2 separate regions of the Homo sapiens genome follow, and region 1 is linked to region 2. Evidence: promoter capture Hi-C in human tissues and cell types (Jung and others, 2019). All regions are on one chromosome and are shown on one strand. Each heading gives the region's core, a stretch centred on a gene start or on the middle of the fragment in contact. The rest is flanking DNA. Distances are from core to core; before and after follow the strand shown. Region 1 overlaps PRR12 (proline rich 12). Region 2 holds the start of ADM5 (adrenomedullin 5 (putative)).

The links. The method cuts DNA at HindIII sites, captures the fragments that hold promoters and counts their contacts. A contact is called where the count stands out against the background at its distance.
Region 1: a fragment that was not itself captured here is called in contact with the fragment with the promoter of ADM5 in region 2 in 2 of the 25 tissues and cell types used here (spleen and stomach).

Annotation. Positions count from the first base shown.
Region 1 is chr19:49,624,058-49,628,249 of GRCh38, reverse strand. PRR12 (proline rich 12) reads right to left here. Exons shown (of 14, transcript NM_020719.3): 12 at 3,260-3,406; 13 at 3,050-3,145; 14 at 1,811-2,789. The coding sequence ends at 2,643. Among named protein-coding and RNA genes, the nearest start is that of RRAS, 14 kb to the left of the region's middle. The HindIII fragment of the contact is 9,568 bases long and covers 1-4,192 here.
Region 2 is chr19:49,686,951-49,691,037 of GRCh38, reverse strand. It overlaps ADM5 (adrenomedullin 5 (putative)), which reads right to left and starts at 1,444. Exons shown (of 2, transcript NM_001101340.2): 1 at 1,127-1,444; 2 at 463-932. The coding sequence starts at 1,200. The coding sequence ends at 545. It overlaps PRMT1 (protein arginine methyltransferase 1), which reads right to left. Exons shown (of 11, transcript NM_001536.6): 11 at 2,591-2,876. The coding sequence ends at 2,793. It also overlaps a transcript of CPT1C not described here. RefSeq lists a silencer at 985-1,054 and enhancers at 2,363-3,103, 3,104-3,845. The HindIII fragment of the contact is 11,781 bases long and covers 1-2,754 here.

The sequences.
Region 1 (4,192 bases), core at 1,269-3,768, 64 kb after region 2:
TGGTCTAGAGTCCAGATTTGTCCAACCCACCTTATTTTGTTGTTGTTCTGTTTTGTTTTAGGCTTTTAGCAGCCTGAAGCCATGGTTTTTAGTTTCTGTCTCTAGTAATAAACAAAAAAGAGGGATGAGGAAGGGGCTTTACTGGTACAACAGAAACTAAGAACCCATGACTGTATTCTCTCCTTGGACACCCCTGGAACAATACTCAAGGTTCTAGAACGATGAGGGTTCTCCCTGAATCTCACCTAAAAGGGCATCTGGAATGCTGATGTTCCACCCTCAAATCTCACACTGGGTCCCTACCCACGGACTAAGCCAGGGTTCTGGAACACCAGTGGTCCATCCATCCAGGCTCTAGAATGACAACAGCCTGTTCACTGCTTCATAGACTGGGTTCTAAAATATTGCCAGTTGACCTCCACATTTTTTATTTTTTGAGATGGAGTCTCGCTCTGTCAGCCAGGCTGGAGTGGTGCAATGGCACGATCTCAACTCACTGCAACCTCCGCCCCCTGGATTCAAGCGATTCTCCTGCCTCAGCCTCAGCCTCCCATGTAGCTGGGATTATAGACGCACGCCACCACGCCTGGCTGATTTTTGTATTTTTAGTAGAGACGGGGTTTCACCATGTTGGTCAGGCCGGTCTCGAACTCCTGACCTCAAGTGATCCCCCCGCCCCGGCCTCCCACAGTGCTGGGATTATAGCCGTGAGCCACCGTGCCCAGCCAACCTGCACATTTTTAACATTCTTGTTCTAGAACACGGTTCTTCAAACTTGAATGTGCTTGAGAATCCTCTCGGCATTTTACTAAAAAGTGGGTTCTGATCAAGTAGACCAGAGCAACAGCCTGAGATTCTACATCTTTTCCTTTAAGGGTGGGAGGAGGAGAAACAGCCCTATTCAACCTGCCCTCTCCTCGTCTGCTGCCTGTGCCGATTCTACATTTATACAAGTGCTTGGGGAACTCCAAGAGTGCTGTACCATGGACCACTCACTTGGATTCAAGAATACAGGACTTGAGGCCGGGCGCAGTGGCTCACACCTGTAATCTCTTTGGAAGGCTGAGGCTGGCGGATCACTTGAGGTCAGGAGTTCGAGACCAGCCTGGCCGACATGGTGAAACCTGGTTTCTACTAAAAATACAAAAATTTGCTGGATGTAGTGGTAGGCCCCTGTAATCCCAGCTACTTGGGAGGCTGAGGCAGGAGAATCGCTTGAACCGGGGAGGCTGAGGTTGCATGAGCCAAGATCGAACCACTGCACTCCAGGCTGGGTGACAGAGCGAGACTCTGTCTCAAAAAAAAAAACCAAAACAAAACACTACAGGATTTGAACTGGGTGTAGTGGCATGCACCCGTAATGCCAACTACTTGAGACTGGGGCAGGAGGATCTTTTAAGCCCAGAAGTTCAAGGCCAGCCTGGGTAACATAAAGAACACAGGGCCAGGCACAGTGGCACTTGCCTGTAATCCCGTCACTTTGGGAGGCTGAGGCAGGAGGATCGCTTGAGCCAGGGAGTTGGAGGCTGCAGTGAGCTATGATCATGCCACTGCACTCCAGCCTAGGTGACAGAGCGAGACCCTGTCTTTAGCTAAAAAACAAAAGAAACCCCCCAGTGATAAATATTTGTTGTCTGAAGTCATTAAATTTCAGGGTGGGATACTCTGCTGTGCGGGGACACAGAACATATGCCAGCCTCAGGCCCCCCACTGCCCAGGGCTCTGGGAAAGTCCCGTTCCAGAACCTCTGCCCCTGCTACCACTGCCACCCACTCCAGCGCCGCAGGACAGAGGCACTCCAGCCTGCCGGTAAAGTGTTTGCCGTTGGGTTTTCGTTTGGCTGGTTGTGTGTACACAGTGTATACAAGTTGAGTTGTACAGAAGCCCAAGAAAGAGCAAGAGACAAAGGGTAGTGGGAGCAGGGGGTGGGGCGGGGGCGAGAACGGGGAGGAGGGGAAAGGAGACCGATAAAAAATAGAACCACATCCAGACAACAATGGGGGATGGGCAGTGGGTGGGGGCCAGACACAGACAAATCGCCGTAGAAAAGGAGTGGGAGGGGCAGAGAGAGGGGACCCTTCTCCCCCCTCCACCTCCCCAAGCCCCTGCCCCAGGTATGTACAATAAATAAGATTAAAAATAATTAACAAGATGCGTTTTCCCCTCCCACCCGACGCCAAATGCCCTGCGGAGGGAATGGCCTTTAGCAAAGATCTTGGCCTGCAGGGGGGACTTGGGGGGAAGGGGTCCCCCAGCTCTCTGAAGCCACCCCACCCCCCCCAGCCATACATAGACTTTTCCTATACATTATGTACAAGGTGGAGGGGGCGGGGGCTGTGGCTGTGGAGGGGGGGTCGGGGCAAGGGGAGAGGGAAACCGTTACTAAATAGACATTTATACATATATATAAATAATTTCTCTGTACACCGAACAGTGGGAGGAATGGGGAGGGAGTGGAGGGGGCTTGGGAGAGGGGGGGAGTCGGACTTTGAACCCTGCCCTGGAGGGGGCAGCACAGACACACCCTGACCCATGACCCCCTTTCCCCGGCGATGGAGCCCAGGTGTTAGCTCCTGAGGACACGGTTCTGTCCCAATTCTCGGTTCATGGAGGAGGCGCCCCCCTCACAAGCTGGGGCGGGGTCACCCGCAGCGGCTGTGGGCCTGTGCTTGGGCCAGCAGGTCACTGAAGGAGTCAAAGAGCTGTTCCAGCCACGGCTGGTTCCGCATGCACTGCTGGACCACCTCCTCCTGGCCCAGGTCCTCGGCGCCGCCCTCGATGGCCAGGGTCTGCAGGGGTCAAACATGGCACTGGGGAGGGTGGCACACCGGCCTCTGGGGAGGGAAGGGGCTGGGGCATGGGGCCTGGGGTGTCAGATGTCAGTGTCCCAGGGAGACCAGGGCTGGGGGCTGCATTCTTAAGTCCAAGACAGAAGGACCTGAACTCTTGGGTCTGAGGCAGGATGGGGCTGGGCTTGGACCCTCAGATCCCAAGAGGAAGTCAGAAAGGTTGGAATCCCAGGGCGATGGGTGCTGTGGGTGGGGCTCACCTGGTCCCGGCAGCGCAGGAAGGTGTGGTATTTATAGTGGTGGAGCGAATGGTAGAGTGTATAGTATCCCGACTTTTCCAGCTCAACCTTGAACTCCTGGGTAGGAGTGGAGATGCCTCAGCCCCTCCAGCCCGGCACTTGGCAGCCCCTCTCCTCCCTTCCCACATACCGCCAGCACTCCCCACTCCCAGCCCCAGCCCCAGTGCCCACCTGGGCTCTGACCACGCTCCTCTTGAGCTTGCTGAGCGTCTTGCGGTTGTAGGGTTCCCCAGCAGGCCGCAGCCGCACAGCCCCCTCTTCCGGAGAGCCCTCCCCACTCTGCTCCACTTGCAGCTGTGGGAACGTGTGCAGAGCATCCTGCGGGAAGCCAATGGGTCAGCTGGATGCTGCCCTGGATCCATAAACCCCAAACCCAACAGCCAGGTCTCAGATCTGTGCCTCAGTTTCCCCCAGGCTGCAGATCAGGAGAGACAACTAGAGTCTCCTCAAAGGACAGAGGAGGCTGGGCCTGACCAGTGATGCTTCCACTGTGCCTTCTGGCCTGGCTCAGATTCTCAATGTCACCCAAAATTCTACCCCAGAATTCCCAGCCCCATCCTAACCATCTACCCCAGAATTCCCAGCCCCATCCTAACCATCTATCCCAGAATTCCCAGCCCCATCCTAACCATCTATCCCAGAATTCTCAGCCCCATCCTAACCACCTACCCCAGAATTCCCAGCCCCATCCTAACCACCTACCCCAAAATTTTCAGCACCATCCTAACCACCTACCCCAGAATTCTCAGCCCCATCCTAACTATCTATCCCAGAATTCTCAGCCCCATCCTAACCACCTATCCCAGAATTCTCAGCACCATCCTAACCACCTACCCCAGAATTCTCAGCACCATCCTAACCACCTACCCCAGAATTCTCAGCCCCATCCTAACCACCTATCCCTGAATGCTCGGCCCCATCCTAACCACCTACCCCAGAATTCTCAGTCTCATCCTAACCACCTATCCTATCCCAGAATTCTCAGCCCCATCGTAACCACCTACCCCAGAATTCTCGGTCCCATCCTAACCACCTACCCCAGAATTCTCGGTCCCATCCTAACCACCTACCCCAGAATTCTTGGCCCCATCCTAACCACCTACC
Region 2 (4,087 bases), core at 195-2,694:
CCTACATCCGTTCGATCCCCAGTCCTCCGTCTCCTTTTACCCGGCCAGATTCTCCACCATTTGGCCGCTCGCATTCTACGCAGCTGTTCGGAACCCGGGTTCCTGGGCTCCTCACTCAGCTCATTGTCTCTTAGTCTCCTGTCTCTTCGAGGAACAAGGCTCAGCTGGGAGGTCGCAGCCCACCCCAGGTGCATTATAACGTCAGGCGCGTAGGGTGCCGGAGCAAATCTCAGCCCTTTCACGCCAGGGAGGGAGGAGGGATGTTTGGGGGTCAGGACGGCCCGCCAAAACCACCCACGGAAGGTGCATGGATTGAGTTGGCAAGAAAGGCGCCACAGCGGGTTGGATTCAAGGTAGACAGTGGGACTTCCGTGAGGGAGAAGCAGCATGGCTAATAGAGAAAGGTATATTAGAGACCCAGCCTCGACTGAGAGGTCGAAATAGGTACAGAGAAGCAGAGACTGAAACACGGAACTCTTGTTTATTCGGCTCTGGGCGTCAGTGTTCTTCGCCCAGCCTGGTCCCGTGTGCTTCTAGGTCCAACCTAGTCGCAGCCCGGGGAGGGACTGGGGAAGACGGTTTCAGGGGCTGGAGTTAGGGGAGAAGAAATGTGGAGTAGAAGCTCCAACATACAGATAGGCAAACTGAAGCCGAGGAGGGGACGAGCCGTGCCCGAGGTCACCCAGCGAGCTGGGCACTGCGCTAGCCCCCTCGCTGCAGGCCGGAATCCTGGGAACCGAGCCGGGCTTCCGCCTCGCGCCACCGGCGGCGCCCATAGCTGTAGGGGTCCTGGGGCTCGTGGCTGGCCTTCCCCGAGGGCTCCTTGGTGGAGACAGCGAATCCAGTATATGATCTCCGCCAGGCGGTGGGTCCGGCATACGCCCAGGTAGCAGACGTGCCCGCGGTGCTGGGGGACCTGGTGCTGGCCTCGCCTGGAGAGGGAGCGTGGGAGAAAACCGGGTTCAAACCGAATTGAGAGATGGAGCGTGATGGAGGTGGGCACCCAAGCACTCCAAGACCAGCGGGGAGGCTTACAGATCACCTGCCCGTTCCGCGGCCGGGAGAGGGCGCTCGCCCTTTACGGTCTCCCTCCCGCCCTGTCCCTGCTGCCACCCGGGTTTCTCACCTGGCTGCAGTGTCCAGGTCCCCTTGGGCGGAGAAGGCGAGGAGCAACAGCAGGATGAGGATGTGGATAGTCATCGTGGGCAGGGCGGGTCAGGATCCGTGGCCCGTAGTTGCGGCCACCCCGCCCCGTTCCCGCACCGGGCTGATCGCCTCTGGGTGCAGCTCTGGAGCCAGGTACCAGGGCCAGTCCCCACTTCCCAGGCGGGGAACACTGAGGCCAAAAGTCTGTGGGAAGAGGCCGCACCACACCAGAGGGGCAGGATTCAAACCCGGGTCCCCGCTTCCCGCACCGCGGCTCCAGAGACCTCACTGGGTGTGTGGGGTCACACCAGCTGCTGTCTATCCCCCTAGGAGGTCTGTGGAGACTCGCCCCCTTCAAAGCGTGGGGAAATGGGGCGGGGCCAATGACACCCGCAGGTAGCTAAGCAGCGGGATTCCAAGAAAAGGGGTGGCGGCGGGGAAGCGCTGGCTCTGGTTGTAGATGCGACCTCACCCTCACCCTGTCGGGAAGCCGGTTAGTAGACAGTTGGGACCCTGGAACCTCGGGGGCCAGGCAATGCAGGGCAAGTGCACATGCGGCCCCCTGGAGGGCGTGGAGCGAGGGAGACCCCAAACACACTGAGGAGCGCCCCTCCGGAAGAGAAAAGGCCGAGGTGTCAGGCACTCGCCGGTGAGGGCTCCAGTTGCACTGAAGCAGGTGTAGCCAGGGCTGTTCAACGAGGAGGGTGTCCTGGGTCAACCAGGTCGAGTGCACAGTATTGTGGGGGACCCAGGACCCCGTGGCCAGGCCCTGAGGGTGGAAGGGTGGGTGCAGACGCCATGTCTGCAGCAGAGGCAGAGGGACCTCGTCTTCACCTCTGTAAGATGGGTAGGCCCTGCCACCTTACAGCTGCAACTCCCACTGACCTCCATGGAGGGCAAGTCCCCAGCCCTAAGCCCCAAGCCATTCTAGGGGAGGAAGCAGGGCCACTCCCCCATGAGAAATTCTATCCTTGCAAACATACACCCCCAACCCACTCAGTGTCCCCAGCTGCAGAGGGCTGGGCACAGTTGGGCCTTGAAGGGACCCGAACAGGAAAAAACAGCCAGAGAGGAACAATGTCGAGTGTTGGGGGGAGGTGGGGAGACTGTTCTGGGAAACTTGAGGGCTGGCTGTGCTGGAAAGCCACCCCCATCCCCTACTAGGCAGGACACGGGTACCGCAGAGGGGAGGGGCGCAGACCCAGGAGAGGGATGAAAAGAGTTGGACAAAGACCCTGAGAGACAGCTGTGGAGGACAGGGACCCCGAGAAGGAACCAAGGAAGGGGAGCAAGAGGCCTAGAGACGGGGGACGGGAGACGCAGATCCACAGAATGGCAGCCACCAGCAGGTGCCAAGGCCGGTCCCCCCACTGCTGAGGCTGGCACTGCAGTACCTGCGAAAGGAACCCCAAACCTCCTTTGCCCCCAGGAAACAAAGCCAGACCCCAGCTGAGGATTTATTGGCGTAAATGCAACCATATAAAAACATAAGTTATGAAAAACACAGTCACGATGTGCCCTCCCCATCCCCCCAGCCCAGGCCCCTAAAACCCCCTTCTGCGGGAGGGAGGGAGAGGAAGGGGGAGCCCCGAAACCGCCTAGGAACGCTCAGCCCCTGGGCTCGTGCAGGGCGGGAGAGCCGGGCCTCAGCGCATCCGGTAGTCGGTGGAGCAGGACAGCTCGCACAGCTGGCCCTTGAAGTCCAGGTCGATGGTGAAGTCCAGGTCCCGCTGCAGGGAGAGGTGGGGCATGAGGGCGGAACCCACCAGGAGGTGGTGGCGGGGGGCGGGTGCAGGCAGGCTATGCGACGATGAGCCGGGCTCCAGCTTCCTGCCCATCTCCACGCTGCAGACCCCAACTGCTGGTCCCACCCTAGCAGCTGCCCTGACCCTGCCAAGGGACAGCACCACATGGACACCCCCAAGCCCACTAGACTCACTCAGGAGTAGAGCCCAGCTGCTGTCCCTTGCCCTTGGATTTCTCCATCAGGATGATTCCCATCAGCAATGCAGTGATTGCTTCTTTCATAAAAAAGAAAACCTCTCCCAAGCCCACTTCCTCCTCAGGCAAACGTTCCAGTGAAACACAATGGTCCAGCCTGCTGTCTCCACTTCCTCTCCTCCCCCCATACCCTCCAGCACATGAAGATGAGACAAAGTCACCAACGCCCGAGGACTCCTCCTCCCTCTCCAGTATCCGTTTCCCAGCTAGTGCCGTGGTCCCGGGGGCTGCATGAGTCTTTGTAGGGGGTGGTCCTGTGGCTGCAGGACATTTACCAGCCCCCTGGCCCCTACCTACCAGATGCCAGGACCACCCCTTCTCCGGAGTGACAACCACAAATGTTTCCACAGACGGTGGCAAACGTCCTGGGGGGGGGCGGGGAGCGGAGGGGGCAGTAAAACTGCCCAGTTGACAACTGCTGCTGTCACAGGCTCGTGGGTGTCCCAGGGTCCACATTCCATGACTACCCTGAGTGCCACCCACCCTCGCACCCATCGGCCGGGACCCACTTTTCCAACCCAGACCACTCCCGGCGACTCCAGGCTCCAAGCCTTCCATCCTCCTGCCTGCTCAGACCCACCACACTGGATCTCTGCCCAGACCCTGTCTCCGAGAAGCCCCCCCAGCTCCCCCGGAAGCCCCCTGATCTCAGGTGATGGCAGCTCCTGCCAAGTGCTCAGGAGGAAAAAGAAAGGGGAGCAGAAAACAAAAAGCTGCCTTTCTCCTCTCATGCCTCCCAGCTGGGCTAGAAAACCCCGTGCACTCTACTGGGGGCTGCCTCTTGCCCTGGAGCCCACCTACACCAACACCTGTCTGCCCTGCTCCCAGCCTGACAGAGGTCACCTCCAACTGGCATCACCATGTCACTGACCCCCTTGTCTAGAGTGGAAGCACCAGGAGGGCAGGGTTTCAGCCTGGGTCCCCAGGCCCATAACTTCCG